Regions from separate parts of the Homo sapiens genome. Here all the other regions are linked to region 1. Evidence: promoter capture Hi-C in 16 types of primary human blood cells and fetal thymus (Javierre and others, 2016). All regions are on one chromosome and are shown on one strand. The core of a region is centred on a gene start or on the middle of the fragment in contact, and the rest is flanking DNA. Distances in the headings are between cores, read along the strand shown.

Region 1 (3,011 bases), core at 127-2,626:
TTAAGGCAATAATAACATTGGGAGTGTGTACATACCTTCTCTTGGGTCCATAAATTACCAAATTTGAGGACCCCTGGCTAAGGGTACCTGGGAAGGAGTGGGGTGTACCCTTCATCGTCCTCATCTGCCCCCTGGTGGCACGTTTTGTCACTCTGGACTCCTGCCGTAGGCTGCCAACAGCCTATTTAAACGAAACATCCTTGATATTTAGTGCTTTGTATATTTCCAGAAAGCTTTTCAATTACTGAGATTATCACTTCCTCTCACCATAAAGTTGTATAGCATTGCCCAATAATACTATTGTCATCTGCTTTATCTGTTAATACTTGATTTGTCTCATATTTAAACTGATTTTTGTCACGAGAAGTTTCCCCAGAAATTTTTTTATTCTTTGCCTGTTTTTCCTATATATCCAAATATATCAATTTTTGATCTATTTATATACCCATTTTGTTATCTTCAGGTGCGTTATTTGGTTTTCATTTTTTAAATTTCTTTCCCATTCTGCAGATGAAAAATACTGAGAAACCTACTCTGTTCCTGCATCCGAGCCATTCCACAGGCAGTTTTCCCATACTAAAAATGCTGTCTTCCACTGATGTGTGGCATGTCTCAGTTCCGTGACTTCTTTTCCTCTCTCTCTACTCGCTGCTGTCCCTTTTCTCCATGTGTCTCTAACATGCCTGTGTTCTTCAAGACCCAGTGCAACCACATTCCCTCCCACAACTCTATTTTCATGAGGAATAGCCAAGCAGGACTCCCAAGACATCATACAGGAGTGCCTACAGGGTATCTCTCCTTGGCAGTCCCACAGCACCGCAAATGCCCTGTGTCTGCCAATACTCATCAGCCTCTCTTCCCGTGTGCCTCTCCTGGGACCCTAAGAGAGTAACAGTCCCTGCAACTTCCCACTTTCTCCAGGCAGGGACTTGTGTGCCTTTTCCATGTCTTTGACTCCTTTATTCAATTATAATACAGGTATCTGTCTGCTATAACTCCTGGAACTCTCTTATGTAAATGCGCTTTTTTCATTCTCCGCCTCACATCTTAGCCCAGACCACACCATCTCCCCCCGCCGTCTTGGATACCTTCCATGTTTCCAGTGGTCTGCTCCCACTCCACACTGCAGTACAGTGATTTTTCTAAAACATGGATGGGTTCCTGTCACTCCCCTGTGAAAAGTCATCCATGTGGAGTCTGACTGGTCTGCATTTGGGGACTGGACAGAGTGAGAAGGGATCCTGTGTCAGCCAGGACTCCGGTAGACGCCCCTATGCAATATCCACTTGTGGTGGTCGGGGGCGGGGAAGGGGCGGGATTGAGCCCCCTTCCCCCCTCCTCCTTACTGCGGAAAGCTGCGGAGCGAGCAGCACTCACTTCCTATTCAGCATTCAGCAGGGAGGGAGCCTCTGAACAGCCACGTAGGCATTCTCTTCTCTCTGGAGGAAAAGGCCCAGCAGCTGTCCGAGGAAAAGACCCACCAGCTGTCAGCAAAGGGACATGTCGCAGCTAAGTAAGAATCTGGGTGACTCGAGTCCTCCGGCGGAGGCCCCGAAGCCGCCTGTCTATAGCCGCCCTACGGTTCTGATGCGGGCCCCGCCCGCTTCCTCCCGGGCTCCGCCAGTCCCTTGGGATCCACCTCCAATTGACTTGCAGGCTTCATTGGCCGCTTGGCAGGCACCTCAGCCTGCCTGGGAGGCCCCACAGGGCCAGCTGCCCGCCCCGGTGGTTCCGATGACCCAGCCTCCTGCCCTAGGGGGCCCGATAGTCCCGGCTCCCCCGCTGGGGGGCCCGATGGGTAAGCCTCCGACTCCCGGGGTCCTGATGGTGCATCCTCCACCTCCGGGAGCCCCGATGGCCCAGCCTCCGACCCCGGGAGTCCTGATGGTGCATCCTTCAGCTCCCGGAGCTCCCATGGCCCATCCTCCTCCTCCGGGGACCCCAATGTCCCACCCTCCCCCTCCGGGGACCCCAATGGCCCATCCTCCTCCTCCGGGGACCCCGATGGCCCATCCTCCTCCTCCGGGGACCCCGATGGTGCATCCTCCTCCTCCGGGGACCCCGATGGCTCATCCTCCCCCTCCGGGGACACCGATGGCTCATCCTCCCCCTCCGGGGACACCGATGGCTCATCCTCCACCTCCGGGGACACCGATGGCTCATCCTCCCCCTCCGGGTACACCGATGGCCCAGCCTCCAGCTCCGGGAGTCCTGATGGCCCAGCCTCTGACTCCGGGAGTCCTGATGGTCCAGCCTGCTGCTCCGGGAGCACCGATGGTCCAGCCGCCTCCAGCAGCCATGATGACCCAGCCTCAGCCTTCAGGAGCACCGATGGCCAAGCCTCCAGGTCCAGGAGTCCTGATGATTCATCCTCCAGGTGCGAGAGCTCCGATGACCCAGCCTCCAGCTTCAGGAGCACCGATGGCACAGCCGGCGGCCCCACCTGCACAGCCGATGGCCCCACCTGCACAGCCGATGGCTTCTTGGGCCCCGCAGGCTCAGCCTCTGATCCTGCAAATCCAGTCTCAAGTTATAAGGGCTCCTCCGCAGGTTCCCCAGGGCCCGCAGGCACCCCCAGCGCAGCTAGCCACACCCCCGGGCTGGCAGGCGACCTCGCCAGGATGGCAGGCCACGCAGCAAGGCTGGCAGGCCACTCCCCTGACTTGGCAGACCACGCAGGTCACCTGGCAGGCACCAGCCGTTACCTGGCAGGTGCCGCCGCCCATGCGCCAGGGGCCCCCGCCCATCCGCCCTGGCCCACCACCCATCCGCCCTGGCCCACCACCGGTGCGACAGGCCCCACCGCTGATCCGCCAGGCCCCACCGGTGATCCGCCAGGCCCCACCCGTGATCCGCCAGGCCCCACCCGTGATCCGCCAGGCCCCCGCTGTGATCCGCCAGGCCCCACCTGTGATCCGCCAGGCCCCACCTGTGATCCGCCAGGCTCCACCTGTGATCCGCCAGGCCCCGCCGCTGATCCGCCAGGCGCCGCCGCCCATCCGACCTGCCCC
Region 2 (3,013 bases), core at 500-2,999, 2.0 Mb before region 1:
CTACAGATTCAATGTAATCCCTACCAAAAGTCTAAAGGTATTTTTACAGAAATGAAAAAAAAAACCCTAAAATTCATATGGAACTAGAAAAGATCTCAAATAGCCAAAGCAATGTTGAAGAATGAAGTGGGAGAAATCACACTTCCTGATTTCAAATTACGTTACAAACTCCAGTAAACAAAACAGTTTGATACTGGCATAAAAATAGGCATATGGATCAATAGAAAAGAATAAAAAGCCCAGAAATAAACCCAGGTATACATAGCTAATGGATTCTTGATGAGGATGCCAAGAATACACAATGGGGACAGGTCAGTCTCTTAAATAAATGGTGTTGGGAAAACTGAATATCCACGTGCAAAATAATGAAATTGTATGCTTTCTTATATGAAACACAAAAATTAACTCAAAATAGATTAATGATTTGAATGTAATAGCTGAAACCATACAACTTCTAGAAGAAAACATGAGGGAAAAGCTTAAGTGGGACAGCAAAGGAAACTATCAACAGCGTAAAAAGCCAACTTATAGGATGGAAGAAAATATTTGCAAACCATATATCTGATAACGGGTTAATTTCCAAAATACATAAAGAGATTCTAAACTCAATAGCAAAAACAAAAACAAAACAGAAGCAAACAAAAAACCTGGTTAAAAAATGAACAAAGGATTGGAATAGACATCTCTCCAAAGAACACCTACAAATGATGGACAACAGGTATACAAAAAGATACTCAGCTTTACCCATCGGCAGGGAAATGCACATCAAAACCACAATCAGATATTATCTTGCACCTATTAGGATGGCTACTATAAAAATATTTATAAATATTAGTGAGGTTTGTATACTGCTGATAGTAATGTAAAATGGTATAGCCATCATGAAAAACAGTATGAAAATTTTTCAAAAAATTAACAATTAAACTACCATATGATCCAGAAATCTCACCTCTGGGTATACATCCATAACAATTGAAGTCAGGATCTTGAAGGGATAGCTGCACTCCCATGTTCACTGCAGGTTTATTCACAATAGCCAACATATGGAAACAACTCAAATGTCCGTTGAAAAATTAACAGATAAAGAAAAATTGGTATATCCATGTAATAGAATATTATCCAGCCTTAAAAAAAAGAAGGAAAGCCTACAGTCTGTGACAACATGAATAAACCTGGAAGACATTATGCTAAGTGAAAGAAGTCAGTCACCTAATTATGTGCAGTTTCTTTTATGCCAATTATACCTCAATAAAGCTAAAAAAAAATGGGGAGGGGGGAGAGAGGACACATGGTTGGTATTACACATGAGAAAGATTGCTTTGAATGTGGTGGGCTGAATAGATTGGGGAGGAGGGGTGCAGGAGATGAGATTATAGGCCAGGATAGAAAGCTGGAGAGAGCAGAAATAGGGTGGGAACCTTGAAAGGATGGCTAGGTCAGACAAGTAGGAGTAGGAAAGGGAGCAGGGCAGAAAGAATGCACACCAGATTGCTTGAAGGTGCAACAGGTTTCTTAAAGAATCAAGATCACGCTTTAATTTAAAAACTTTTTTTATCCATTCTTATTGACAAGTGGCACTTGCCCAGATATATTTTTTTCAGGGTAGAAGTTTGTGATAAATTGAAGTAAAATTAACACAAAAGCTTAACTTATATAAAAGGACCCCAACAGCAGTCACAAGACTGTGTTACTGTAGGTCCTGTGCAGGATTGCAGAGACGTAGCCTAACCTCTACACTAAGGTCTTGCCATGTAGACCAGTCTGGTCTCGAACTCCAGCATTCCTGCCTTGCTTGGCCTCCCAAAGCACTGGGATTATAGGCAAGGCATGAGCCACTGCAACCAGCCAAAGCTTTTTTTTTTTTTTTTTTTTTTTTTTTCACAGACAGGGTCTCACTCTGTTGCCCAGGCTGGAATGCAGTGGCACAGTCATAGCTCACTGCAGCCTTGATCTCCTGGGCTCAAGCTGTCTTTCCACCTCAGTATCTCAAGTAACTGGGACTACAATTGCATATCACCACACCTGACTATTTTTTTTAAAAAAACAGTATTTGTAGAGATAGGGATCTCACTATGTTGCCCAGGCTGGTCTTGAACTCCTGGCCTCAAGCTGTCCACCTGCTTCTGCCTCCCAAAGTGCTGGGATTACAGGGATTACAGATGTGAGTCACCATGTGGGCCTTCCTCCCTTGTTTCTGGCAATGGTGGGTGCTGAGTCTTCTGTAGATTTTAATGACATGACTCAGAGTCTCCTTCCACCCAGTCTCAAAGGACAAGTTGAGTAAGGTGAGTAGCACCCCACATTTCCACGCTCCAAATTGTCTTTTCCATGCTGAGGTTCAGTTCTAAGTGTTGGAACTCTCTTATGAGCCTCCCTTCTCTTGCTCAAGTTAAATTTCTTTTCCTGGCGTTCCTTTGTATATCAGCAAAAAAATTCTTCAAGAGGCCAGAGAACAAACCTGGACTTGTCTACCTAGCAAGAAGTTTGTAGCTTAGACTGACTACCCAAAAGTAACTTGAATGTTAATTTTCTGCCCAATATTTTAGTATAAAAAATTGAAACATAAAGAAGAGCTGAAAAATTACTGCAGTGAACATTCACATACCCACAGTAGTATTCAATATTCCACATTTTGTCGTATTTACTTCTGTATCTGTCTAATCTATCTGTGTGTTTTTTGTTTTGTTTTGTTTTGAGATGAAGTCTTACTCAGTCACCCAGGCTGGAGTGCAGTGGCACGATCTCAGCTTACTGCAACCTCTACCTCCCAAGTTCAAGTGATTCTCCTGCCTCGGCCTCCTGAGTAGCTGGGATTACAGGTGTGTGCCACCACACCCAGCTAATTTTTGTATTTTTAGTAGAGGTGGGGTTTCACCATGTTGGCCAGGCTGGCCTTGAACTCCTGACCTCAAGAGATCTGCCCACTTTGGCCTCCCAAAGTGCTGGGATTACAGGCATGAGCCACTGCCCCTGGCCAACTATCCATGTGTTTTTTGAATCATTAGAAAGTGAG
Region 3 (2,757 bases), core at 256-2,755, 1.9 Mb before region 1:
TAGTCATGTGTTGCTTAATGACAGGGATATGTTCTGAAAAATGCATCATTAGGTGATTTCATTGTTATGCAAACATTGTAGAGTGTACTCACACAAACTTGGATGGTACACCTACTACACACCTAGGCTATATGGTACAGCCTACTGCTCCTAGGCTACAAACCTGTATAGCATGTTACTATGCTGAATGCCGTAGGCAGTTGTAACACACTTGTCAGTATGTGTATATCTAAACATATCTAAATATAGAAAAGGTAGAGTAAAAATACAGTATTATAATCTTATGGGACCATTGTTGTATATAAGTTTTGTTCTTGACCATAAGGTCATTATATGGTACATGACTGTATTGTTAACTTTACATCATAGTATTTAAGTTGCAGGCTATCGAGAGGCATAAGCATCACCTGAGGACGTTGCATACTCTTTTGGGGAGGGAGTTAGTGCATTTTTGGTTGTATGCAGGACAATTATGATAGGTGAAAGATGGCCTTGTTATCATCTTTGTTTGGAAATTAAGTATGGTTTAAGGAGATGTGTATAGCTGCCCAGATGACAAGGGGTGGACTTGCACTGGCTAATTTTATAGTCAACTTGGCTGGGTCACAGTGTCCAGTTATTTGGTCAAGCATTATTCTGGATGTTTCTGTGAAGGTGGTTTTTGTTGAGATTAACCAAAACTGATAGACTGGGAGTAAAGCAGATTACCCCCCATAATGTGAGTGGGCCTCATCCTGTCGGCTGAAGGCGCTCAATAGAACAATGACTGGCCTCTCCTGAGCAAGAAGGAACTCTGCCAGCTGACTGCCTTTGCAACTTGGACTGACATTCTCCCCCGCGTCTCTAGCCTGCCAATCTACCCTGCAGATTTTGGACTTACAAGCTTCCACAGTCTTGTAGGCCAATTCCTTAAAAATAAATCTCACTGTATATACACATCCTGTTGTTTCTGTTTCTCTGGAGAATTCTGATTAATATGCTAGAAAACCTTACTGAAAGAAATGAAAGAAGACCAAAATAAATGAAAAGATGTTCCATGTTTAGAGGTTGAAAAGTTCGTATTGTTTAGATGTCAATTCCTCCCGTATCTTTTGATGAATTCAGATATAGCTAAACAGTTTTTTTAAAGAGATGAAATTGAGAAGCTGATTTTAAAATATATATGAAAAGACAAAGGACCTGAAAGAAACAGAATACTTAATGAAGAAGAGCAAAGTTCAAGGATTTCAAGAATTCTTTTGAAGCTACAGTAGTTCAGATAGACTGGTATTAGAGGAAGGATGGACAAAGAGAACAGTGGAATAGAACAGAGGATCCAGAAATAGACCCACATGTGGTTTACCACGAAGGTGCTGCTGCTATTCAGATGGAAACAGATGGTCTGGATAATAAACAGAGCAACTGGATACCTGTATGGAAAAAAGAAAACACCTTACCCATATCTTACCCTAAAAATGAAAATTAGTTTAAGTTGGGTCATATACCTAAATGTGAAAGCTAAAACAATTCTGGAAGGAGATAAGAGAGAATGTTTTCATGATCTTGTTTTTCTGAGGTCTTGCTCTGTCTCCCAGCTTGGAGTGCAGTAGCACGATATTAGCTCACTGCAGCTTCAAACTCCTGAACTCAAGCCATCTTCCCACCTCAGCCTCCCACCTCAGCCTTCCAAGTAGCAGGGACTACAGGTGCATGCCACCACACCTGGCTAATTTTTTTTTATTTTCTGTAGAGATGGGGACTCACTTTGTTGTTCAGGCTGGCCTCAACCTCTTGGCTTCAAGCAATCCTCCCACACTGGCCTCCCAAAGTGTTGGGATTATAGGCATTAAGCCACCATACTTGGCCTTCATTTTCTTAATGGACTTAGAAGAGCCTTTTGTAAAACTTGTTTTTACAATTTCTTTTTTAAAAAATCTAAATTGCATAATTGACAAATAATAATTGTATATATTTGTGAAGTATAATGTGAAGTTTGGAGTGGCATGATTAAATCAAGCTAATTAACCTGTCCACCACATCACTTATCATTTTCTGTGGTGAGGCATTTGGTATTTACTTTTAGCGGTTTTGAAATATACAATACATTAACTATATTCACCATGCTGTGCAATAGATCTCAGAAGCTTATTCTTCCTATGTAACTGAAACTTTGTACCCTTTAAACAACCTCTACCCATTCCCCTTCCCCCATGCCCCAGCCCCTGCTAGCCACGATTTTATTCACCATATCTACGAGTTCAACATTTTCAGATTACATATATATAAGTGAGATCATGCTGTATTTGTCTTCCTGTGCCTGGCTTATTTTGTTTTTTACAGGTTCATTCTTCACTGTGAACTCAGAAGTTCACTGCCCCATTGATCTTGAGAAAAATGAAATGTGTGCCATGCTGCAGGAAAGTTAGGAAGGCCTTGGGGTGGATCTTGACAGGCTCATGTTCACCCTGCACATGACTTTGCTTCCCTGCCTCCTAATCTCCGACCCACACCTCATTCTCTTCTCCCTAACCCCTCCCCTATTCTATGTGCCTCAGGGTACAATAGCCTCATGCCCCCCTACAGGAGCTGGCTTTGATTCATCTAATAGGATTTATGCGATCCCACAGCCTGATCTTACCCCAGTGGCTGGCCCTTTACCCAAGTCTATGGCATTCCCTGGATGAAAAACTTGCTTCGGAAATGGGCCTATAGCCTGATTTTGGCCAGTGTGATGGAAGCGGGGCTGTAGGCACCTTCTGGGTAGTGTAGCTCCAGACT
Region 4 (2,912 bases), core at 60-2,559, 1.8 Mb before region 1:
TTTACTCCTTACCGTCCCAAAATGACCTTTATCCACTCTCAGTCAAGTAACTACTACCACTTACCTATGAACATATTCCTCTACCATTGAACTATGAGCTCTTTGGGGACCAAGCATATGTGCTTATGTGTGGCGCCTACCACAGTTCCTTATCACAGTAGATGCTGCTTAATGGGCTAGGCCTCGCCAGAGAGGAATTGGACCTGGAAATTTTATATGCCAACTCTACTTGTGGCCAGTGCTTCCAGTATCCCTAGAGCTGTTCAGTGAAAAACATGGTCTCATTTTGAAATAAGCATGGGAACAGCACTTAATTACAGTTCTGAACTTGGAGAACTGTAATACATGAAAACATGTTAAAAGCTCTACAAAGTCACATCTTAAGAAAACTACCTATATATAACTAAATGTCGCCTACATTTATTTAATCACCCCACACCCAGTGCCTAGTAACACCCTGCAGACCACACTTTGGGAACCCCTGGGACACAGACTGTAAAGTGGCCTGGATTTGGATGATTGAGGACAAGGTTCCAGGTCTGGAGGGTCACACGTGAAGCAGGGGCCACATTCCTAGCAGTTGTCCACATGTGGAGGTCAAGATCCGTTCTGGAAGGCAGGCAAACAGGGTCATGGTGAAGCTTGGAGCAGGCATTTATGCAGCTGCTCAGGCAGGTGCACAAGGTAGCAGTTTCAGCTGCTAACCTGTGGTGCTGGCAGAGAATTTCAGGCTCTGAGAGAACTGCCAAGAGTAGCTGTGCCCCAGTTCCTGAAGTGGGTTAGAAGATGGGAATTAGTCACCAGAACATGGCAAGAACCCAGGTACTGAACCTGGGGCACAAAGTCAAAGGAAAACTGCAACAAGGTCCCATCAAGGCATGCAAGGCATTGGAGAGGTCTGGGCTCTGAGCCAGAGAGAATTTTGGCTAGGCGCCTAGGAGGCTGGGTAGGTTGTTACAGTCTAAGGACAAGCACAAATCCTCAGGTGGGTCAGTGAGGAATCCCTCCAGAGCAAGTGGTCATTTGGCTACAGCCCAAGACAGGTTGAAAAAAGCCAAAACGAAGAGTGAAAGAGTACGCTGGGGCCATTTCATGGATGCTTGGATTTTCTCCTGTCCACATGACTTGAAGGGAGAGGAACTGTACTTGTGGAGGGTGCAAAAAGGCTTGGAACACAAGAGACAATGACCCTGCACACAACAAGCTGACAGTGGGTTTTCTTTGGTTAGGCAATAAGAAGGGGAAATGGGAAGTCTGGGAGAGAGAACTGACAGAATCTGGCAACTGATTCAATGTAGAATCGAGATTTTTAAACTAGGAGGATGTCAGAAGTGTTATTATGGAAAGGGAGACCATTTGACTTAGGCATCAGGGGACCAGTCTCAGCCAGTAAAAATTGTGTGATGTTGGAAAAATCAGGCCTCACTTCTTTAGGTCTCAGTTTCTTCATCTGTAAAATGGGGCTAACAATGCTATGCACCTGACAGAGCTGCTGTGAGAATCAAAAATGTAAAGCTCTTGGCACTGTCCCTGGCACATGATAAACCCCTGCTGCTGAGAGTTTAAAACAATTTGTTGATCAAAACATCTCCATCACAAGGAGAACCTGATTAGGGAATTTAAAAAACGATATGTCTCAGTTTAGACATTTTTAGTAGAGGTAGTGGCTCTATGGAGCACACATCTGGAAATACAGGCCTGGCACGTGGGGGAGAGACTAGAGGAAAGCTAAAGGCTGGGAAATGATCTTCATCAACGTAATTGCCACAGCCTTGAAAAAAAAATGCAATCCCCATAGCAGAGACAACTGACAAAAGAAGAAAGAAAGAAATCTAACAGCAAACCACAGTGACTGTTTAAATTTCAGAGTGACAAAAGACACTAGGGACCAAGGAGGATCTCTGTGGTTAACACAGGATCAGCACAGAATCAAAGTACTTGAGGAGCTGAGATGCTGCCTGAAAAATGAGAAGCTTTTAAGAGTATTACAGGATGGACCAAGTTCTAAGAAGATCAAGACTGAGAGAGTGTAATTAGGGCTTGCCTATTAAGATGTTACTAGCAAGCTTTGGGAAAGCATTCTCAGAAAAGTGGCAGAAAACTAAAAGATTAAGAACAGGTATTTGGCAGAGAACCAAAGATTAGGCTAGTGTCTAATCTTGAGCTCGAGTCTGTTACTGAAAGACAGGAAAAAAGAAGATGGAATAGTAACTCAAGAAGGTAAAAGATCAAATTCCACCCAGCAACTTCCACTTATATCTTATTGGTTGAAACCATATCATGTGGCTACCCCTAGTTGCAAGGGAGGCTGGGAAATGTTTTTTTAAAATTTGGCACAACATGGCCATAATTAATGTTGGAGTTCTGATGGTAAGAAAGTGAAGATGACTGGGGAATTAGTATGCAAGTATGTTTCATAGTAGAATGAAGTATGTACTATAATTACATTTCAATCTTTGAAGGGACAATGTCATAAATCTTGTGCCTCTCAAAACAGAGAACTATTCTAACATCAGGAAAATAGATTCAAATATCTTACATTCTATCAGTTGCCCCAGGTATGCTCCATTTTAGATGAATTCATAATTGTAGTATGATCTTCTACAGTTTTTATGTTCCTGAAATTTTTCATTGTCTTATCTTTTTTCTTGTTGAGAAAAGACTTCCAATAATTTCCAACATTTTCCTCGTTCCACTTATTGCTTAGAGTCAATCCACTTTTTCTTGACAATATTCTTCCTAGAGCTCACTAATATCCTAACATGGCCTCATAATTTCTCTCTTCCTCCTTCCCTCCCTCCCTTTCTTTCTCCTTTCCTTGCTTTGTTATTCTCTCTCTCTCTCTCCCCGTCTCATTCTCTTTTCTCCTATTCTGAAGGACCTGAGGCCACAGAGCTGAGTTAATGACAAAA
Region 5 (2,703 bases), core at 179-2,678, 2.0 Mb before region 1:
CCGGCTGGGAAGGTGCCTCCCCCAGTTATTCACCTAGATAATTCCTACTCATTCTGCAAGATATGCCTCAAATTCATTCTGCAAGACTTGCCTCAAATAAATGTCACCTCCCTTTGGACTGTGCCCTGCCTGCCTAGGTGGTCTCTCTCACCTGCACATTCTCACAGCACCTATCTCGTTGCTTGGGATAGCTATTTACAGATTGGTGCCATGCACCTGTGAGTCCCTCTGAGGCAAGGACTTTGCATTCTGGGGGACTGTATTTTCAGTGCCCAGCACAGAGAAACCTAGTGATATGGGCTGAGTGACGGGAGTGAGCGTGTGCACCTCTTAAAAACATACATGACACCGCAGTAGCTAGACGTTCAACATTTTGCATTTACACTTACTCAAGAGAAACTCTCCTAAAGACCCTCCCACAATGGCCTCTCTGGGCTGGCAGGGCTCTTCCAGCTTCCTGCACCTTCCCGAAGGAATCCTTGGGCTGCAGCTGAGGTCCTGGAGCACCAGGGAGCAAGCCCCATGCCTGATCCATCAAGATGCTCGCCGCCTTAGAGTCGGTGGCGTTGGTGCCCGGCCCTAGTGCGCCCAGATAGTGTTGTCATGTGATTTAGTTAAATATTACCTAATCCCATGACAATATGAGTGGGGAAAGAGTTACTGTTTCTATGAAAATGAAGTTCAAAGCTTTGGAAAGACTCAATCAAGGTGAATCATGAAAAAACATTATGTCCAATTAAGTGTGTGGGAAGAAACTCTAACAAATGGAGGGAAGTAAAATTCCATAAGAATTCCACGCTTAGAGTCTGTCCAAAAGTCTTTAAGCTCTCATGTCACTTTAAATCTGTTGAAACTGATAAATATGGACAATGTATTACAACTGTGTGCTCTGAACAGGAAGTCAATATAGATCTGAAATCACCAAATCAGATGACCAGCACGTACATCTATGTCTTTAGGCTTCAAGTTAAAATAAAATGTTATACACACACACACAGACACACACATACATGCATACACACATATACATATAGACACGCACGTATACCTATGTATGTTCACATATGTAACTATGTTTACATGTGATGTGCATATGTGTGTGCCCACGCACATACCTGCACATGCCTACATAGACACACACATATACACATCACATATATACACATGTGCATGTAATAGATATATATATATATATATATGCTCATATATAATGATTTTCTACTTTAAATAATTTTGGCTGTATGCTTACTCACTACAGGGTTCACAGGAATTAGATAAGAGAGCTCCTAGTAAATACTTTAAATACTTTAAAAATACTCAAATAATTAAATATGTGTGTAGATGTAAATACATACTTTGAATATTTATGTTTATACATTAACATTTGTGTAAATATACTTCGTATGTTGAATATGTTTTTGCAGATATACATAGTACATAAATTAAACCTTTTGCTTCCTCAGTGTTCTGCCTTTGAGCATTTTTAGGTCAGATGGTTGTCATGGTCAGCCCTGGAAGCCGATGCTGAGATGAAGCTGGGCACACAGGGTGCTTGCTAGGGATCAACACTATGGGAGGAGAAGCAAGAAGTGGGATTTGTTCAGGGGAAGTTGGGCTGAGGGGTGACCCAGAAGTGGCTTCAGCTGGCCCTAGGGGGGCTCCTTAGCTAGTTAGTGTTGTTTCTAAGGTGGACAGAGATGGACAGGCCTTCCTATAACCACTTGGATCCATCACTGGGTGTGGGCCACCCCAGGGAGGGATGCATCCATGGACAAGGTGGCTCTGAAGCAGAGGCAGTCCCCAAGGGTCTGGCAGCTGGAAACCACCTGCCACCAGCACTCCCTGGAGCTGGGCAGAGAGTTTGTCATTGAAGGGACTCTGGACAGCACCTCCCAGGGGCCATGACAAAGCTGATTGGGTTAGCTCTAGAACAAGGCATCTGTATCCTGTGGAAGACGTCCCAAAGCAGCTACTAGAAGCCTCTGGATTAAAAACTCAGTGCTTTACTTATCATATACCATTTCTCCTTTTCTTGTCCTCAGAATGCCATGCTCCTCCACTTTAGGATGAAGAGAGTATTCAGGAAGCCAAACTTTTAGTGGGAAATCCTGGAATTTTCACTGAGAGCATGCTCAGCAAGAGCTGTAAATGGTGGCTAATAAAGCTTTTTGGCCCCAGACTATGTCATCAGATAAACACAAACTTTTTCTCCAACACATGTGAATTCTAATGCCCAGTTACTCCTCTCTTAATAAAGACTCAATAACAGTTATTCAAAGAATGATAACACTTGCCCATTGTAGAGGTGGGTTCATCTCTGATGCCACCACTGGCTGGTCCTAATTCAAATAGGCCTTTGGGCTGGGGACTTTCCCAGTTACCATGTGCCCTCAGCCATGCTGCCCAGGAGGAGGGATGGATGCCAGCTGGGGCTGCCTGGCTCTTGGGAACAAACACCCTGTGGCCCTGTGGTGATGGGGGTCATGAGGTTCTGTATCCCATAGTTTTGACAAAGTTGTGCTTCAGACCGTCCTTGCACTATGCACATGCAATTTACAAACTGGGTTCTAGAGCTTGGAAGATCCATGTAGGCTCTGACTCCGGAGAGGTTCTCTCGGTCTTCTCTGACCCTAGGCTGTCTCATCTCCCCCCATATCCCATCCCTAATCATCTTTATTTCAACTTTTCTTCTTTCTTTTCAAA
Region 6 (2,710 bases), core at 17-2,516, 1.8 Mb before region 1:
TTTTTGAGACAGAGTCTTGCTCTGTTGCCCAGGTGGGAGTGCAGTGGTGTGATCTCAGGTCACTGCAACTTCTGCCTTGCAGGTTCAAATGATTCTCCTGCCTCAGCCTCCCACGTAGCTGGGACTACAGGTACCTGCCACCACACCCAGCTAATTTTTAGTAGAGATGGGGTTTCACCATGTCTGCCAGGCTGGTCTCAAACTCCTGACCTCAAGTGATCCTCCTGCCTCAGCCTCCCAAAGTGCTGGGATTACAGGCATGAGCCACCACACCTGGCCTCAGTTTTTTAAAATCTACAGCAGCTTTAATTTATCCTTTATATATAAAAGATAGTTTTGCTGGATATAGAATTCTTGATTGACATTCTTTTTCTTTTGGCACTTTGAATATGTCATTTCATTGCATTCTCATCTCTATGATTTTTTTATGGAAAGCTAGCTATTAATCTTATTATAGATCACTTGCATGTAATGAGTCATTTTTCTCTGTCTTCAGTATTCCTTATTTGTCTTTTAACAGTTTTGCCTATTATATGTGTAAGTGTAGATTTCTTTCAGTTTATCTAATTTGATATTCTTGGATATGAACATAAATGCTTCCATCAAAATTGGGATGTTTTGGTCATTGTTTTCCTCAAGTATTCCTTCTCCTCCTTTTTCTCATTTCTCTCATTCTTGGACTGCCTTTATGGGTAGGTTGGTGTGCTTGATGGTGTCCCATAGGTATTTATGACTGTTAATTTTTCTTCATTCTTTTATATATTTCTGTTTCCCAGGCTGCATAATCTGAATTGACCTATTTTCAAACTCATTGATTCTTTCTTCTGTAAGATTAAATCTTCTGTTGAAACCCTCTAAGAAATTTTACATTTCATTATGATAGTTTTATTTATGTTTTGATTAATTAATTAATTAATTTTGAGACAGAGTCTTGCTCTGTCATCCAGGCTGGAGTGCAATGGTGTGATCTTGGCTCACAGCAACCTCTGCCTCCCAGCTTCAAGCAATTCTTCTGCCTCAGCCTCCCAAGTAGGTGGGATTATAGACACCTGCCACCACGCCTGGCTAATTTTTTGTATTTTTAGTAGAGATGGGATTTCTCCATGTTGGCCAGGCTGGTCTTGAACTCCTAACCTCAGGTAATCCACCTGATTTGGCCTCCCAAAGTTCTGGGATTACAGGCATGAGCCACTGCACCTGGCCTCATCTTATCTTAAGCTAAAACTTAAGATAGTTTTAGCTCTACAGTTGCCATTTGATTCTTTTATTATTCTCCAGATGGAAATTAAGAGAAATAAAGTGAAAAATGGAAAATTTGGGGCAAAGTTTAATGTGGAAGGACTCTCACAATGACCTTACGGTTTTTATTCTCTGGCTTGGCCAAAATGTAAATGGAAGTGGATGTGTCAGCCTCTTTACTCCATTCTCTGGCCAACTGTCCCTTTTTTAGTCCTGAAGAGGAAGACTTATTTCCTTCCTCAGCTTACTTCTTCCTATCTGCGAGTCTATTTCCTTTGAAAATGGTAAACTTTCTGTTAGCAAATGCTAAATGTGAGCAAAAGTGTTTCTTTCCCACACTTGAATCTTCAGTGGCTAGGCCACTGCCCAGTAAATACTAGCTGCTCAACAATTTTTTATTAAATAAAATGCACTATCTTTGTGGGTACATTCCCTTATAATTTAACTTATTAAAATTTTACCACCAGAATAGTAGGTTGACAATCCCTATGAATCTACCTTTCCATCAGAGCAATAAACACAGTAGCCAAAATTGTCAAAAAATCAGTTATTTAAGAGATCTTGAAATTAACCAAAGGTTTACAGTAATCTGAGGAGAGTTTGTTCCAGAAAAACTGCTGAAAGTGGGAAAGAACAGAGGGTTTATGGCATTGTAACATAATCTAGCCCCATATCCCTCTGTCTAGCTATACAATAGACTTGAAAACTATCTGGAGAATAATACAATTCTTAAAATAAAAAGTCTACAGTATGCCTTGATCAGAACAGCAGAAAAGGACCAATATGTACAGAGGAAAAAACTATTCTATTGCTAGATTTAGGGACACTGAAATGTCAAGTATAAAAAGTAGGTGACAGGAAGCAGAAAATAAAGCTAGAAAGATAAAAAAGACAATAGGCTGGATGCTATAGGTGTCTCCTTAATAGAAAAGGGTGCTTAGGGACAGCCATGGATGGATAATTTGTTTCAGGGGTTTAACTGGCCACAGGTCTCTGTATTTCCATGATTCAGGGGGTGTATGAGTCACTCTAATTTCATTTTAAAGTGATTTCACTTTCACCAATTCAATATTGCAAAAATACACGGATTGCTTCCTTACAATTTGACAGAAAGTATTTCTGCATCTTTATTAAATGACCAGATCTTTTCCTCAGTAATAAATCGTATTAAAAGCATTGGAGAAAGTGTCAAGGCCAGCTTAATCTAAGAAACATCATCCAGCAATAACACAAGTGCTGTGATGTTACCTAAACGTCCTCAGCAGAAACTCAATTTCCTTCCTCTAGGATGTATTCAGTTTCCTTGCTTGTGGCCTTGTTCACACCCAGAGGCTGTATTACGGTCTGGTTCAAGATAAGCTGATTCCATTACTGGCCTATGGAGAACTCAATACAACGCTATAGGATGGAGACAGAAATTTACAGAAGAATGACAAAGAAATGCAAAATCTATGAACAGAAATAATTTGGG
Region 7 (2,767 bases), core at 261-2,760, 1.9 Mb before region 1:
TGATGTCAATTCCCATCCTTTGCCAAAAAAAAAAAAAAAAAGCCCTACTGGCTCTTTTCAGAGAGTCAGCCAGATAGCGCTCTCTCTCTCTCTCTCTCTCTCTCTCTCTCTCTCTCTCTCTCTCTGGTGCTGCCTCCCTTATGCACCAGCATAAGCTCCAGTGAAGCCTTGTCTGGGAAAACTCTCTGATCTCATGTCAATTTCTATTGCATTGGGAGACCAAGAAGGTGGGTAACAACTGATCTATGCAATCTCAATAAAAATCCCAATGAGTTTTTTAAAGGACATTATTAATACAATTCTGAAATTTAAGTGGAAATGCAAAGAACTAAGAATACTTAAGATACGCTTTAAGAAGAATAATGAGGGGAGAGTTTCCTCTTCCACCTATCATGATTTATTATAAAACTGTAATAGTTCAGTTGATGGCATGATATTGTTCCCAAGGATAAACAAATAGACTCATGACAAATGGAACAGATAGCCTAGAAACAGGCCAGTGCATATATTAACCCTTGATTTTTGAAAAGGTGGTACATCAAACAATGGGGAAGAAAACGATATTATTTTATATAAATAGTGTTGGGTCAATTGTATTATTTACCCTTTTGAAAACAGAATTAAAGTTGACCTTCTCACATAAAAAAATCAAGCTTAGGTAGATTGTAGACCTAAATATAAAAGGCAAAACAACATATTTTCAAGGAGGTAATAAAGGAAAATATTTTCACAGTCTTGAGTGTAGAGAAAGATTTCTTAAATAGGACACAAAAAGGGCTAATCATAAATAAAAAGATAAATCATTCAAATCACATTCAAATTAAGAATGTCCATTCCTTAAAAGGCACCATTAAGAGAGTGAGAAGGCAAGCCACAGAGAGAGAGAAGATATTTGCAATTCATGTAATCAACAAAATACTCAGATCTAGAATATCAAAAGCATCCCTAACGAATCCATAAGAAAAGATAGACGACTCTATTGAAAAATGAGCAAGTGATCCAGAGATTTCTCAAAAAATGTACTGTCCTAAATGGGCAATAAATTTATGAAAAGTTTCTCAATCTTGTTAGTAGTAATTGGGAAATGCAAATTAAACTACAACGAGAAAGACGGCCAATCACAAGTGTTTGGTGAGGATGTGGAGCGCACTGTTGCTGGAGCACAAGTTACTGCCACTTTGTTTTTTGTGTTTTGGGGGCGATGGAGTCTCACTCTGTCATCTAGGCTGGAGTGCAGTGGCGTGATCTTAGCTCACTGCAACCTCTGTCTCCTGGGTTCAAGCGATTCTCCTGCCTCAGCCTCCCAAGTAGCTGGGATTACAGGTGCGCATCACCAACATGCCCGGCTATTTTTGTATTTTTAGCAGAGACGGAGTTTCACCATGTTGGCCAGACTGGTCTCAAACTCTTGACCTCAAATGATCTGCCACTCCAGCCTGCCAAAGTGCTGGGATTACAGGCATGCACCACCATGCCCAGCTAATGTTTCACCATGTTGGTCAGCTAGTCTCAAACTCCTGACCTCAAGTGATCTGCCCGCCTCGGCCTCCCAAAATGCTGGGATTACAGGTGTGAGCCACTGCACCTGGCCAGTTACTCTCACTTTGGAAACTGTCTGGCTACATTACTGGAGTTGGAAATAAGTATCACTATGCCTAGGGTGACCATATTTTGAGAGTGAATGTAGGCTTTTACCAGATAGGACAACAGGCATAAATTGGGATTGTTCCAAGCAAACTAGGATGTGTGCTCACATCAATTGTGGTATATTCTCTTACCCAGCAATGCCACTTCTAGGAACGCCAAGACACAGGCCCAAGCAGACACAGAGCAGCATCTTATGTAAGAGCCCCAAACTGGGAACAATCCAAATGCCCATCCACTTAGAGTGTATACATAAATTGTGGTGTATTCATACAGTAAAACATTAGACAATTAGGAATACATCAGCTAGAGATACATGAAACAATATGCTGACTCTCACACAGTATCGAGAAAAAAGTGAGATACAAAAAAAGTGCATGTTGTATAATTTCAGGCAACATAACATAAATCATAGTGCGATAAGTCAGGATAGTGTCACGGTAGCAGACAGTCTAATGCCTTCCCTAAAAGATGTCCACACACCAATCCCCAAAATCTATGAACATGTTACTTTTGAGGAAAGAGCTTTTATCTGAGTAATGCAAGTCCTTTTAATTATCAGGCTCAGAGAGACCTTAAAATGAGGCAGCAATTGTGTCTTGCTTCCCCCCATGAGCTTCCCCCCATGTTCATCTCATGAAACTGCTTGCTATTGCCACAAGTAGCCATAAATTAACCCAATAATGCCACACCAGACACTATAACACACATCCTAAAGCTTAACAATGGATAGCCAATCACTAATCAATGTTATTCCTGTAAACCAATGAGAATTCCTAACAAACAACTTTGTATCAGCCCACTTCCTGCCCCACTTTTTTGCATTAAAAAATCCACTAGTAACTGTGGCTGTTCTGAGTGTATATTCAGGGCTACTTGAATCCAGGCCCTCAAGCTTGGCCCCAAGTGGACTTTCCACGTAATTTTGCATCAGCTTCTTCCTTTCAGGCCAGCACCTTATATGGCAAAAGGGACTTTGCAGATGTGATTAAGGTTGAAAACTGTGAAATGGAGAGATTATCCTGGACTATCCCAAGGGCCTAGTGTAATCTCAAGAATCCTTAGAAGAGAAATAGGGAGGCAGGAGAGTCAGAACCAGAGATGTGACAACTGAAGTCATGTC

What was found. Contacts are between HindIII fragments. The CHiCAGO score rates a contact against its expected background, and 5 or more counts as called.
Region 2: a fragment that was not itself captured here is called in contact with the fragment with the promoter of MAGEL2 in region 1 in 6 of 17 cell types (total B cells, M0 macrophages, non-activated CD4 T cells and 3 more); the score reaches 10.7 in total B cells.
Region 3: a fragment that was not itself captured here is called in contact with the fragment with the promoter of MAGEL2 in region 1 in 2 of 17 cell types (total CD4 T cells and M2 macrophages); the score reaches 7.1 in total CD4 T cells.
Region 4: a fragment that was not itself captured here is called in contact with the fragment with the promoter of MAGEL2 in region 1 in 4 of 17 cell types (M0 macrophages, M1 macrophages, naive B cells and 1 more); the score reaches 8.4 in M0 macrophages.
Region 5: a fragment that was not itself captured here is called in contact with the fragment with the promoter of MAGEL2 in region 1 in 4 of 17 cell types (M2 macrophages, total CD8 T cells, M1 macrophages and 1 more); the score reaches 7.2 in M2 macrophages.
Region 6: a fragment that was not itself captured here is called in contact with the fragment with the promoter of MAGEL2 in region 1 in 16 of 17 cell types (M0 macrophages, naive B cells, non-activated CD4 T cells and 13 more); the score reaches 38.9 in M0 macrophages.
Region 7: a contact is called between a fragment that was not itself captured here and the fragment with the promoter of MAGEL2 in region 1, in 9 of 17 cell types (M2 macrophages, non-activated CD4 T cells, M1 macrophages and 6 more). The highest score is 11.6, in M2 macrophages.

Annotation. Positions count from the first base shown.
Region 1 is chr15:23,646,232-23,649,242 of GRCh38, reverse strand. It overlaps MAGEL2 (MAGE family member L2), which reads left to right and starts at 1,376. Exons shown (of 1, transcript NM_019066.5): 1 at 1,376-3,011. The coding sequence starts at 1,501. RefSeq lists an enhancer at 2,089-2,933. The HindIII fragment of the contact is 5,160 bases long and covers 236-3,011 here.
Region 2 is chr15:25,600,122-25,603,134 of GRCh38, reverse strand. No RefSeq gene overlaps it. Among named protein-coding and RNA genes, the nearest start is that of LINC02250, 23 kb to the right of the region's middle. The HindIII fragment of the contact is 208 bases long and covers 1,646-1,853 here.
Region 3 is chr15:25,570,454-25,573,210 of GRCh38, reverse strand. The region is part of intron 1 of LINC02250 (long intergenic non-protein coding RNA 2250); the gene reads left to right. Among named protein-coding and RNA genes, the nearest start is that of LINC02250, 7.0 kb to the left of the region's middle. The HindIII fragment of the contact is 1,240 bases long and covers 886-2,125 here.
Region 4 is chr15:25,463,956-25,466,867 of GRCh38, reverse strand. All of the region lies in intron 4 of LINC02250 (long intergenic non-protein coding RNA 2250), which reads left to right. Among named protein-coding and RNA genes, the nearest start is that of UBE3A, 26 kb to the right of the region's middle. The HindIII fragment of the contact is 1,332 bases long and covers 644-1,975 here.
Region 5 is chr15:25,630,028-25,632,730 of GRCh38, reverse strand. No RefSeq gene overlaps it. Among named protein-coding and RNA genes, the nearest start is that of LINC02250, 53 kb to the right of the region's middle. The HindIII fragment of the contact is 1,477 bases long and covers 690-2,166 here.
Region 6 is chr15:25,487,209-25,489,918 of GRCh38, reverse strand. All of the region lies in intron 4 of LINC02250 (long intergenic non-protein coding RNA 2250), which reads left to right. Among named protein-coding and RNA genes, the nearest start is that of UBE3A, 50 kb to the right of the region's middle. The HindIII fragment of the contact is 3,038 bases long and covers 1-2,710 here.
Region 7 is chr15:25,537,835-25,540,601 of GRCh38, reverse strand. All of the region lies in intron 1 of LINC02250 (long intergenic non-protein coding RNA 2250), which reads left to right. Among named protein-coding and RNA genes, the nearest start is that of LINC02250, 40 kb to the left of the region's middle. The HindIII fragment of the contact is 1,709 bases long and covers 656-2,364 here.